2 separate regions of the Homo sapiens genome follow, and region 2 is linked to region 1. The links are contacts of gene promoters, found by promoter capture Hi-C in blood cells and fetal thymus (Javierre and others, 2016). All regions are on one chromosome and are shown on one strand. The core of a region is centred on a gene start or on the middle of the fragment in contact, and the rest is flanking DNA. Distances in the headings are between cores, read along the strand shown.

Evidence for each region. The method cuts DNA at HindIII sites, captures the fragments that hold promoters and counts their contacts. A CHiCAGO score of 5 or more calls a contact.
Region 2: a contact is called between a fragment that was not itself captured here and the fragment with the promoter of NUCB1-AS1 in region 1, in 4 of 17 cell types (erythroblasts, megakaryocytes, M1 macrophages and 1 more). The highest score is 5.7, in erythroblasts.

The regions. Positions count from the first base shown.
Region 1 is chr19:48,917,289-48,922,430 of GRCh38, forward strand. It overlaps NUCB1-AS1 (NUCB1 antisense RNA 1), which reads right to left and starts at 1,603. Exons shown (of 2, transcript NR_046633.1): 1 at 1,416-1,603. It overlaps NUCB1 (nucleobindin 1), which reads left to right. Exons shown (of 13, transcript NM_006184.6): 8 at 1,438-1,496; 9 at 1,742-1,834; 10 at 1,906-1,998; 11 at 3,866-4,036; 12 at 4,539-4,644; 13 at 5,030-5,142. The coding sequence ends at 5,136. RefSeq lists an enhancer at 1,802-2,301. The HindIII fragment of the contact is 8,372 bases long and covers 1-5,142 here.
Region 2 is chr19:48,971,631-48,976,955 of GRCh38, forward strand. It overlaps GYS1 (glycogen synthase 1), which reads right to left. Exons shown (of 16, transcript NM_002103.5): 11 at 2,990-3,103; 12 at 2,583-2,709. Among named protein-coding and RNA genes, the nearest start is that of FTL, 9.0 kb to the left of the region's middle. RefSeq lists an enhancer at 4,642-4,936. The HindIII fragment of the contact is 1,204 bases long and covers 1,589-2,792 here.

The DNA of each region.
Region 1 (5,142 bases), core at 353-2,852:
GGTTCAGAGCAACTCCCTATACCTTTTTTTATTTTTCATTTTTTTTATTTTTAGAGATGGGGCTTCCCTTTGTCACCCAGGCTGGAGTGCAGTGGCGTGATCATGGCTCACTGCAACCCAGACCTCCTGGGCTCAAGTGATTCTTCCACCTCAACCCTTAGAGTAGCTGGGATCATAGGTGCACACCACCATGCCCAGCCAATTTTTAAATTTTTTTTTTCTTTTTGAGGCAGAGTCTTGCTCTGTTGCCCAGGCTGGAGTGCAATGGCATGATCTTGGCACACTGCAACCCCCGCCTCCCAGGTTCAAGCTATTCTCCTGCCTCAGCCTCCTGAGTAGCTGGGGTTACAGGCACTTGGCATTATGCCTGGCTAATTTTTGTATTTTTGTAGAGACGGGGTTTTACTATGCTGGCCAGGCTGGTCTTGAACTCCTGACTTCAGGTGATCCTCCTGCCTCGGCCTCCCAAAGTGCTGGGATTACAGGCGTGAGCCACCGCACCCGGCCCAATTTTTTACTTTTTTTTTTTTTTTTGTAGAGACGGGGTCTAGCCATCTTTTCTAAGCTGGTCTCGAACTTAATGTGCTCAAATGATCTTGCCTTAGCCTTCCAAAGTACTGGGATTACAGGCATGAGCCCCTAAATTTGGCCCCTACATTTTCTTTAATCTTAATCAATTTACATTTAAACAGCCCATGTGGCTAGCGGCTACTGTACTGGACAGCGCAGATCCAGAGTTTAGGCAGAGAAGAGACCCCCAGGCCTGAGCCCTGGGCCACACTAGCATGTGGAGGTCAGGAAGAGGATGGAGCCGTCAAAGGAGGTGGAGGGGCAGCCAGAGAGGACAGAATCATGTTCTGGAAGCCAAGGGCAGAAAGTCAAGTCAGATGCAGGTGGAAATTAACCACTGGATTTGCAAGATGAGGGTTCCTGGCCTCCTCCTCAGGAGGAAGGTTGTGCTTGTCTGAGGGAGCCGAGGAAGGAGGGCCGGTGGTGAGGACAGGAAGTGTGGCTGACCGAGCCTGAAGCCCTGCAGCTGTGGGGTCTACGTTGGTAGGAGAGGCTCCCCTCACAACTGGAGTCGGCACTGGCCTGGTTGTCTGGGAGGCAGAGGTCCCTGATAACCCTGGAGCTGACTCTGTGTCCAGAGCACTGAATGCCAGGGCCAGAGAATCCTGCATGACAGTGACCCAAGCATGTTTCCTCGAACCCTCCCTTTGATCTATTCCATTCTCAACCCCCTGGTCGCTAGGCAGTGGCCCTAGCAACGGGTCTAGTGGGGTACTAAAGCCTGGGGGCCACCGTTCCACCGCGGGAGACCCGTAGTTACCTGTCCTCTGATAACAGACCCCACATCAGCCCAAAATTTCTTCACCAGGGACCTTACACATCCCGTCCTCGGTCCCCTGAGATACCTTGCTATCCTCTTCCCTTCAGATATCAACAGTGATGGTGTCCTGGATGAGCAGGAGCTGGAGGCACTCTTCACCAAGGAGGTGAGCATCTTGGAAGCCTCGGGCACCTGGAGGGACGCCCAAATCAGCCACTTGTTTCCTCCTGCAGTCCCCTTAAATCCCCCTGGATGGGAGCTCAGTGAAAACTACAACTCCCATCAGCCCCTGGGGCAAAAACGGCTCCCAGGAGTGGTAGCGTGCCCAAAGGACTGCTGGGAGTTGAAGTTGTCGGGAATGAGCTCGCTGGGGACCTCTCAATGCTGTCTGCCTCTCGCTTGCTCCTGCAGCTGGAGAAAGTGTACGACCCAAAGAATGAGGAGGACGACATGCGGGAGATGGAGGAGGAGCGACTGCGCATGCGGGAGCATGTGATGAAGAATGTGAGGTGGGGGCCAGGCGGGGGAGAGGACGGGCCCCCAGCTCTGTCACTCACCCTTATCTGGCTCCCCAGGTGGACACCAACCAGGACCGCCTCGTGACCCTGGAGGAGTTCCTCGCATCCACTCAGAGGAAGGAGTTTGGGGACACCGGGGAGGGCTGGGAGGTGAGAACATGGGGGATACTCGGGGTCCTGAACCTCTCTCTCTTCTAGCCATGACCTTTCTTTCAGAATCTTAGGCCCCTTCTCTTTCTCTCTGGGTCCCCGTCCATTCTCCTGGGTCACTGCATCTCTATCTCTGGGTCTCTGTTTTCCCCTGTCTCTAGGACTCTTATTTATTTATTTATTTATTTATTTATTTATTTATTTATTCTGAGACGGAGTCTCACTCCATCGCCCAGGCTGCAGTGCAGTGGCACGATCTCGGCTCACTGCAGCCTCCACCTCCCAGGTTCAAGCAATTCTCCTGGCTCATCCTCTTGAGTAGCTGGGATTATAGGTGCGTGCCACCACACCCAGCTGATTTTTGTATTTTTAGTAGAGGCAGGATTTCACCATGTTGGCCAGGCTGGTCTCAAACTCCTGACCTCAGGTTATCCACCCACCTTGGCCTCCCAAAGTGCTGGGATTAGAGGTGTGATTTTTTTTTTTTTTTTTTTTTTTCTGAAACAGGGTCTTGCTCTGTCGCGTAGGCTGGAGCCCAGTGGTGGGATCTCGGCTCACTGCAACCTCCGCCTCTTGGATTCAAGCGATCCTCCCATCTCAGCCTCATGAGTAGCTGGGATTACAGGCGTGAGCCACCATGCCTGGCTAATTTTTGTATTTTTTGTAGAGATGGGGTTTTGCCATATCGGCCAGGCTGCTCTAGAACTGCTGGACTCAAGCGATCCACCTGACCTGGCCTCCCTAAGTGGTGGGATTACAGGCATGCACCACCGCACCACACCTAGCTAATTTTTGTATTTTTTGGTAGAGACAGGGTTTTGCATGTTGGCCAGGCTGCTCTGAAACTCCTGGACTCAAGCTATCCACCCTTCTCAGCCTCCCAAAGTGCTGGGATTACCCAGGCTGGAGTGCAGGGGTGTTATCATGGCCCACTGCAGCCTCAAACTCCTGTCCTCAAGTGATCCTCCTGCCTGAGCCTCCCTATTAGCTGGGACTACAGGCACATGCCAGCATGCCTAGCTAATCTAGCTCATTCTTTTATTTATTTATTAATATTTTTTGAGACAGGGTCTCCTGTCACCCAGGCTGGAGTGCAGTGGTGTAATCATAGTTCACTGCAGCCTTGAATTCCTGGGCTCAGGTGATCCTCCTTCCTTAGCCTCCTGAGTAACTGGGACTACAGGCACATACCACCATGCCCAGCTAATCTAGGTCTCTGTTTTATTTATTTATTTATTTGTTTGTTTATTTTTCAATACAGAGTTTTGCTCTTGTTGCCCAGGCTGTAGTGCAATGGTGCATTCTCAGCTCATTGCAACCTCCACCTCCCAGGTTCAAGCAATTCTCCTGCCTCAGCCTCCTGAGTAGCTGGGATTATATGCATGTACCACCATGCCCTGCTCATTTTGTATTTTTAGTAGAGACGGGGTTTCTCCATGTTGGTCAGGCTCATCTCAAACTACTGACCTCAGGTGAGCCACCCACCTCGGCCTCCGAAAGTGCTGGGATTACAGGTGTGAGCCATGGTGCCTGGCCTATTTCTATATATTTTTCAAGATGCCCAGCCAATTTTCTGTAGAGACAGGGTCTCGCTCCGTTGCCCAGGCTGACCTTGAACTCCTGGCGTCAAGTGATCCTTCCCACTTTCGCCTCCCAAAGTCCTGGGATTACAGGTGGGAGCCATGGTGCCCGGCCTTGTCTCTCGGTCTTTATCCCACTCCCACCTCCCACTTGGGCTTCTTTGCCCACCCACATGGCCCTGGCCTCCCAGCCTCCTCTACACCTCCCCCATTGGCACAACCCTCTCCAACATGGGTGGGCCGAGGTTGGACCTGTGCCCCTGATGGCCCCTGTGCCTGCCCTGCAGACAGTGGAGATGCACCCTGCCTACACCGAGGAAGAGCTGAGGCGCTTTGAAGAGGAGCTGGCTGCCCGGGAGGCAGAGCTGAATGCCAAGGCCCAGCGCCTCAGCCAGGAGACAGAGGCTCTAGGGCGGTCCCAGGGCCGCCTGGAGGCCCAGAAGAGAGAGCTGCAGCAGGTGACAGCGGGGGAAGCTGCTTCCATCCACTGAATCTCTGGCTGCCCGTGTCCGTGTCCCCATGGGTGTCCAGAAGCTGGGAAGGCCTGTGGCCACCATGTTAATCACTGGGGGAGCCTCAAGTATTCACCGCCATCTTGAGTAAGGGCAGACGTTTTCCCGTCTCTGACGGCTCTGTGGCTGCCATGTGAGATAAGGGCATTAAGGCTGTAAGTGAGGAGGGAAAGGCCCAGGAGGGGGAGAAAGGCAGACTCAGCCAGGGATGGGTGAGGGTTTCCCTGTCCCAAAGCAAGACCCAAGCTGTGACTGGAGGGAGAACTGGATCCTTGACTATTATTAAGCCCGACTGTCAATGAAAGAGAGAAACTGAGGCCCACGGAGAAGGGGTTGGCCGTGACCACTTAGCAGGCTGCTGTGAAGTCTCCGTTTGGGGACTGAGGCCTGAGCACTTGCAATGCCAGCATCACACCCTCTTGTCTGTGTGACCCCCCACCTCCCACAGGCTGTGCTGCACATGGAGCAGCGGAAGCAGCAGCAGCAGCAGCAGCAAGGCCACAAGGCCCCGGCTGCCCACCCTGAGGGGCAGCTCAAGTTCCACCCAGACACAGGTGCTGGCCCTAGTCCAGGGAGGAGGGGCTGCAGGGCTGGACCCCTGGGTCTGAGGTTGGAGGGGCTGGGCCTGGACTCCCAGATCTGAGGGAAGAGGGACTGGGGGCCCAGACTCCCAGATCTGAGGGAAGAGGGACTGGGGGTCCGGACTCCTGGGTCTGAGGGAGGAGGGGCTGGGGGCTGGGACCCCTGGGTGTGAGGGAGGAGGGGCTGGGACCCCTGGGTGTGAGTGAGGAGGGGCTGGGGGCTGGACCCCTGGGTGTGAGGGAGGAGGGGCTGGGGGCTGGACCCCTGGGTGTGAGGGAGGAGGGGCTGGGCCTCTGGGGTCCTGGGGGAGGAGGGGTTCGGATGTCCTGTGCCACCATTCCCTCCCTCCATTTCCAGACGATGTACCTGTCCCAGCTCCAGCCGGTGACCAGAAGGAGGTGGACACTTCAGAAAAGAAACTTCTCGAGCGGCTCCCTGAGGTTGAGGTGCCCCAGCATCTGTGATCCTCC
Region 2 (5,325 bases), core at 941-3,440, 55 kb after region 1:
TGCAACCTTCACCTCCCGGGTTCAAGCGATTTTCGTGCCTTAGCCACCCGAGTAGCTGGGACTACAGGCACACACCACCATGCCCAGTTAATTATTGTATTTTTTAGTATAGACAGGGTTTCACCATGTTGGCCAGGCAGGTCTTGAACTCCTGACCTCAGGTGATCCATCCGTCTTGGCTTCCCAAAGTGGTCAAATTATAGGTGTGAGCCACTGCGCCTGGCCCAATGCTTTTTTTTTTTTTTTCTCGAGACAAGGTCTCACTTTATCACCCAACCTGGAGGACAGTGGCTTGATCATAGCTCACTGCAGCCTTGACCTCCTAGGCTCAAGCAATCCTCCCACCTCAGCCACCCAAGAGGCTGGGACTACGAGCACACAACACTACGCATGGCTAATTAAAAATAAAAAAAAAAAAGGCCGGGCACGGTGGCTCATGTCTGTAATCCCAGCACTTTGGGAGGCCAAGGCGGGTGGATCACGAGGTCAAGAAGAGAAAAAAAAAAAAACCATCCTGGCCAACATGGTGAAACCCTGTGTCTAATAAAAATACAAAAATTAGCTGGGTGTGGTGGCAGGCGCCTATAGTCCCAGCTACTCTGGAGGCTGAGGCAGGAGAATCACTTGAACCCGGGAGGCGGTTGCAGTGAGCCAAGACTGTGCCACTGCACTCCAGCCTGGCAATAGAGCAAGACTCTGTCTCAAAAAAAAAAAAAAATCTTTTATAGAGACAGGGTCTCACCATGTTGTCCAGGCTGGTCTTGAACTCCTGAGCTCAAGCTATCCTCCCACCTCAGCCTTCCAAGATGCTAGGATTATAGGTGTGAGCCACTGCCCCTGACCTATAATTATTATTATTATTATTTTAGACAGGGTCTGACTCTGTCGCCCAGGCTGGAGTGCAGTGGCGCGATCTCAGCTCACTGCAATCTCTGCCTCTGGGGTTCAAACGATTCTCCCACCTCAACTTCCCGAAGGGCTGGGATTACAGGTGCCTGCCACCACCCCCAGCTAATTTTTGTATTTGTAGTAGAGATAGGGTTTCACCATGTTGGCCAGGCTGGTCTCAAACTCATGTCCTCAAGTGATCCTCCCACCTCGGCCTCCCAAAGTGTGGGGATTATAGGCGTGAGCCACCATGCCTGGCCTGATCTATAATTCTTATGTAAGTTTTCCTAAAAACATCTGTAAACTGCAAAAATAGGCACTAAATATAATACATCTGTCAGGCATGGTGGGATGCACCTATAATGACAGATACTCAAGAGGCTGAGGCAGAAGCACCTGAACCTAGGAGTTCCAGGTGAGCCTTGGCAACAGAGTAATAACCCCATCTCAAAAAAGAAACAAATAGTAAAATGTATTAAATATATATTTATGATATAGTTTGACTCTGTGTTCCCCCCCAAATTTCATCTCAAAATGTAGTCCCCACGTGTCGAGGGAGGGAAATGATTGGATTACGGGGGTGGTTCCCCCGCCGCTGTTCTCATGATAGTGAGTGAATTCTCACGAGATCTCATGGTTTTATAAATGTTCGTTTTTCCTGCACCCTCACATACTTCTCCCTCCTGCCGCCATGAGAAGAAGCTTCTTTCTTCCCCTTCTGCCATGACTGAGTTTTCTGAGGCCTCTCCAGACATGTGGAACGGTGAGTCAATTACACCTCTTTCCGTTATAAATTACCCAGTCTTGGATTTTTTTTTTATAGCGGTGTGAAAACAGACTAGTACTATCTATCAATCTATCTATAAAACAAGGCCTATGGAAAAAGGGAATTGGGGCTGACCGCGACTCCTAATTATCATGCAAGCACAGTTTGCAGGACTTGTTAAATTACTAATAAATTAGGAAATGGCACTAATTTAGCTTTAATTTTTTTTTTTTTTTTTTTTTGAGACGGAGTCTCGCTCTGTCACCCAGAGCACAGCACTGCCGGAGTGCAGTGGCATGATCTCAGCTCACTGCAACCTCCGCCTCCCAAGTTCAAGCAATTCTCTGCCTCAGCCTCCCAAGTAGCTGAGACTACAGGTGCGTACCACCACACCTGGCTAATTTTTGTATTTTTAGTAGAGACAGGGTTTCACTATATTGGCCAGGCTGGTCTCAAACTCCTGACCTCATGATCTGCCCATCTTGGCCTCCCCAAGTGCTGGGATTACAGGCATGAGCCACCACGCCCAGCCTTATTTAGCTTTAAAAACACTGGCTAATGTGAACCAACAAGAGGAAGGTGGAGTTGATGGGCACTGGGAACGTCTTACGAGGAGACTTGGCCACACTCGGCTGTATTTGTGAATTGTGCATTTCATTGCCACTATTTGGGGGGCCACTGCTTTCTGGGAGAAAGCAGTGTGAACTGTGACATCCAGTTCACTAGTCCTCAAAACCCAGTCTTCTAGTTTCTCAATACATGAGCTATTGTATCACAAAAGCACGCGCTGTAGCAGAACAGGTGATTACCATTGTTCCTGTTTTGCAAAGAAGGCAACAGGCTCAGAGAAGGCCAGTGCCTCGCCCCAAGACATGCTAGCTCTGACTAGGATGCCATGACCACGCTGTCCCCTGCCCACTACACTCACCCGGTGTGTAGCCCCAAGGCTCATAGTAGGAGGGGAAGACTCCAAGGTGACAGCCACGGACAAACTCCTCATAGTCCACAGGGAGCAGGGGGCTTGTGGAGGAGAGGAACTCCGGGTGGAAAATCACCTGGTAGTGAAAAAGAAGGACTCAGCCCAAGTGCCTTATTTAGCTAAGCCCTGAGATCCCAAGGTGGCCCAGAGAGGGTAAAAAGCTTGTCTAGCATCACACAGCATGTGTTTGGCAGGACCAATGTTCAAACCCAGGTCTGCCTGCCTCAGAAGCCAGGGTTCTTTCTAACCACAGCAATACCTTTGATAAAACTTATAGGGGAATGGAGTGTGTGAGGCCCAGGACCCAACCCCTTCCCTCTGCCGTGCCCAACCCAGCCCTGACCAAATGCCCTCACCTTCACCCTGTCGGCACTGCTATTGAAGAGGCCGATTCGGCGGATGGTGGTCAGGATGGGGTCTGAGGAGTCATCCAGCATATTGTGGGTGCACACAGGGGGGAAAGACTGCCGCTGCAGGAGCCACAAGAAGGGTAAGGGGTCATGGAAGGGACAGAGAACTCCCTACTTCCTCATGAGCCATGCGGACCCTGGGGGAGCCAAGGAGACCACAAATGCACCGGACGTGGGGCAACAAACCCAAGTGATCACCAGGAGTTGTGGATTCCCACTAGTACAACCTGTAAAGGTTTTCTTTCTTTTCTTTTAAATTATTATTATTTATTTTTGAGGCGGAGTCTCGCTCTGTCGCCCAGGCTGGAATGCAGTGGCACAATCTCGGCTCACTGCAAGCTCCACCTCCCAGGATCATGCCATTCTCCTGCCTCAGCCTCCCGAGTAGCTGGAACTACAGGCGCCTACCACCACGCCCGGTTAATTTTTTGTATTTTTAGTAGAGACGAGGTTTCACTGTGTTAAATCAGGATGGTCTAGATCTCCTGACCTCGTGATCCACCTGCCTTGGCCTCCCAAAGTGCTGGGATTACAGGCGTGAGCCATTGCGCTCAGCCTAATTTTTTTTTTTTTTTTTTTTAATAGAGATGGGGTTTCACTATGTTGGCCAAGTTGGTCTCGAACTCATGGGCTCAAGCGATGCATCCGTTTTGGCCTCCCGAAGTGCTGGGATTACAGACATGAGCCACCACACCTGGCCTGGAAATGTTTTCCTTCCCTTAACCACCATGAGCTTCAAAGAACTAGAATTCCCAGCTGTCTTTGAGGCAAAGCCGTGTTAGCAACTCCCTTACCTCCAAGGACTATGAGGAGTTGCAGCTACCTTGTTCTGTACTCTGGGCTCTATTATTAAAGAAACCCAAAGGAAATATAACTATCCCCAGTCAATGGGGGTGGAGACTGTGCCAATATGGCAGCAAGCTTTGGAGACTGCTGGGAGTTGTAGTTTCCTTATGAAAATTCACTTCCAACCACCAGGCGTGGTGGCTCACGCCTGTAATCCCAGCACTCTGGGAGGCCGAGGCAGGAGGATGACGAGGTCAGGAGATCGAGACCATCCTGGCTAACACGGTGAAACCCCGTCTCTACTAAAAATACAAAAAATTAGCCAGGCGTGGTGGTGGGTGCCTCAGGAGGCTGGGGCAGGAGAACGGCATGAATCCGGGAGGCGGAGGTTGAAGTGAGCCAAGATCGCGCCACTGCACTCCAGCCTGGGCGACAGAGCGAGACTCCGTCTCAAAAAAAAAAAAAAAAAAAAAAAAGAAGAAAAAAGAAAATTCACCTCCAACCCTAACAAAGGCCCAAAGAAACCACAATTTCCAAGAGTCTCTGGAGCAAGACAGAGCTAGTGTGATAGGAAGTCCTGAGGACTGCTGGGGTGTATAGTTCTTAGCAACTGTTCCATCATAGCTCATTAAAGATTTTACTTACCACCACTCTACTGAGTCTAGGGGCCCGAGAAACTACAACTCCCAGCATCCCGATGGCAGAAACATTCATAATGAGGTGGGCTGCTTTAGGGACTATTGGAAATTATAGGTTAGCCAAAAGCAGTTCACGTTTTGTTTCTACAACTTAGCTGTCTGGGTTTCCATTCCCCAGGAAATGGCTCCCCAATGTAGACCACAAGTACTGAAGTCCCTGGACCCCAGAGAATGAAAGAACTCTAACTCCCAGAAGCCTCTGGACAAGGGAAGCGTCAATGCCCCAGAAAGCCAGCAGGGGCTGCTGGGAGTTGTAGTTTTTTGGGCCCCTAGACTCAATAGAATGACGGTAAGTTCTCATTTTATAAATGCCAATTCTCTCTGAAGTTAGGGATCTAAAGCAGCTACAATTCCCAGGGGTGTCTGGGGACCAACACACAGCCTCTGGAAATAAGAAACCGCAGCTGCTGAGAGTTTGCAATGTTTTCTGGAGAATGCTGGGTGCTTTTGCTCACCTCCTGACTGCGTCCCTAAAGTGGCCCGATAAAACTACCACTCCCAGCAGTTTTAGGGGTAGAGGTGGAGCCGTGTGCAGCAAGGCCCAAGGAGAGCTGAGAGTTGTAATTCTTTTATGGCTGTCTTGACCTTTTCTTTTCTTTCTTTTCCTTCTTTCGTGTGTGTGTGTATGTGTCCGCCTCGCTCTGTTGCCCAGTCTGGAGTGCAGTGGCATAATCATAGCTCACTGCAGCGGCATAATCATAGCTCACTGCAGCCTTGACCTCCTGAGCTCAAGGCATCCTCTGGCCTCAGCCTCCCAGGTAGCTGGGATAACAGGTGTATGCCACTATGCCCAGCTCA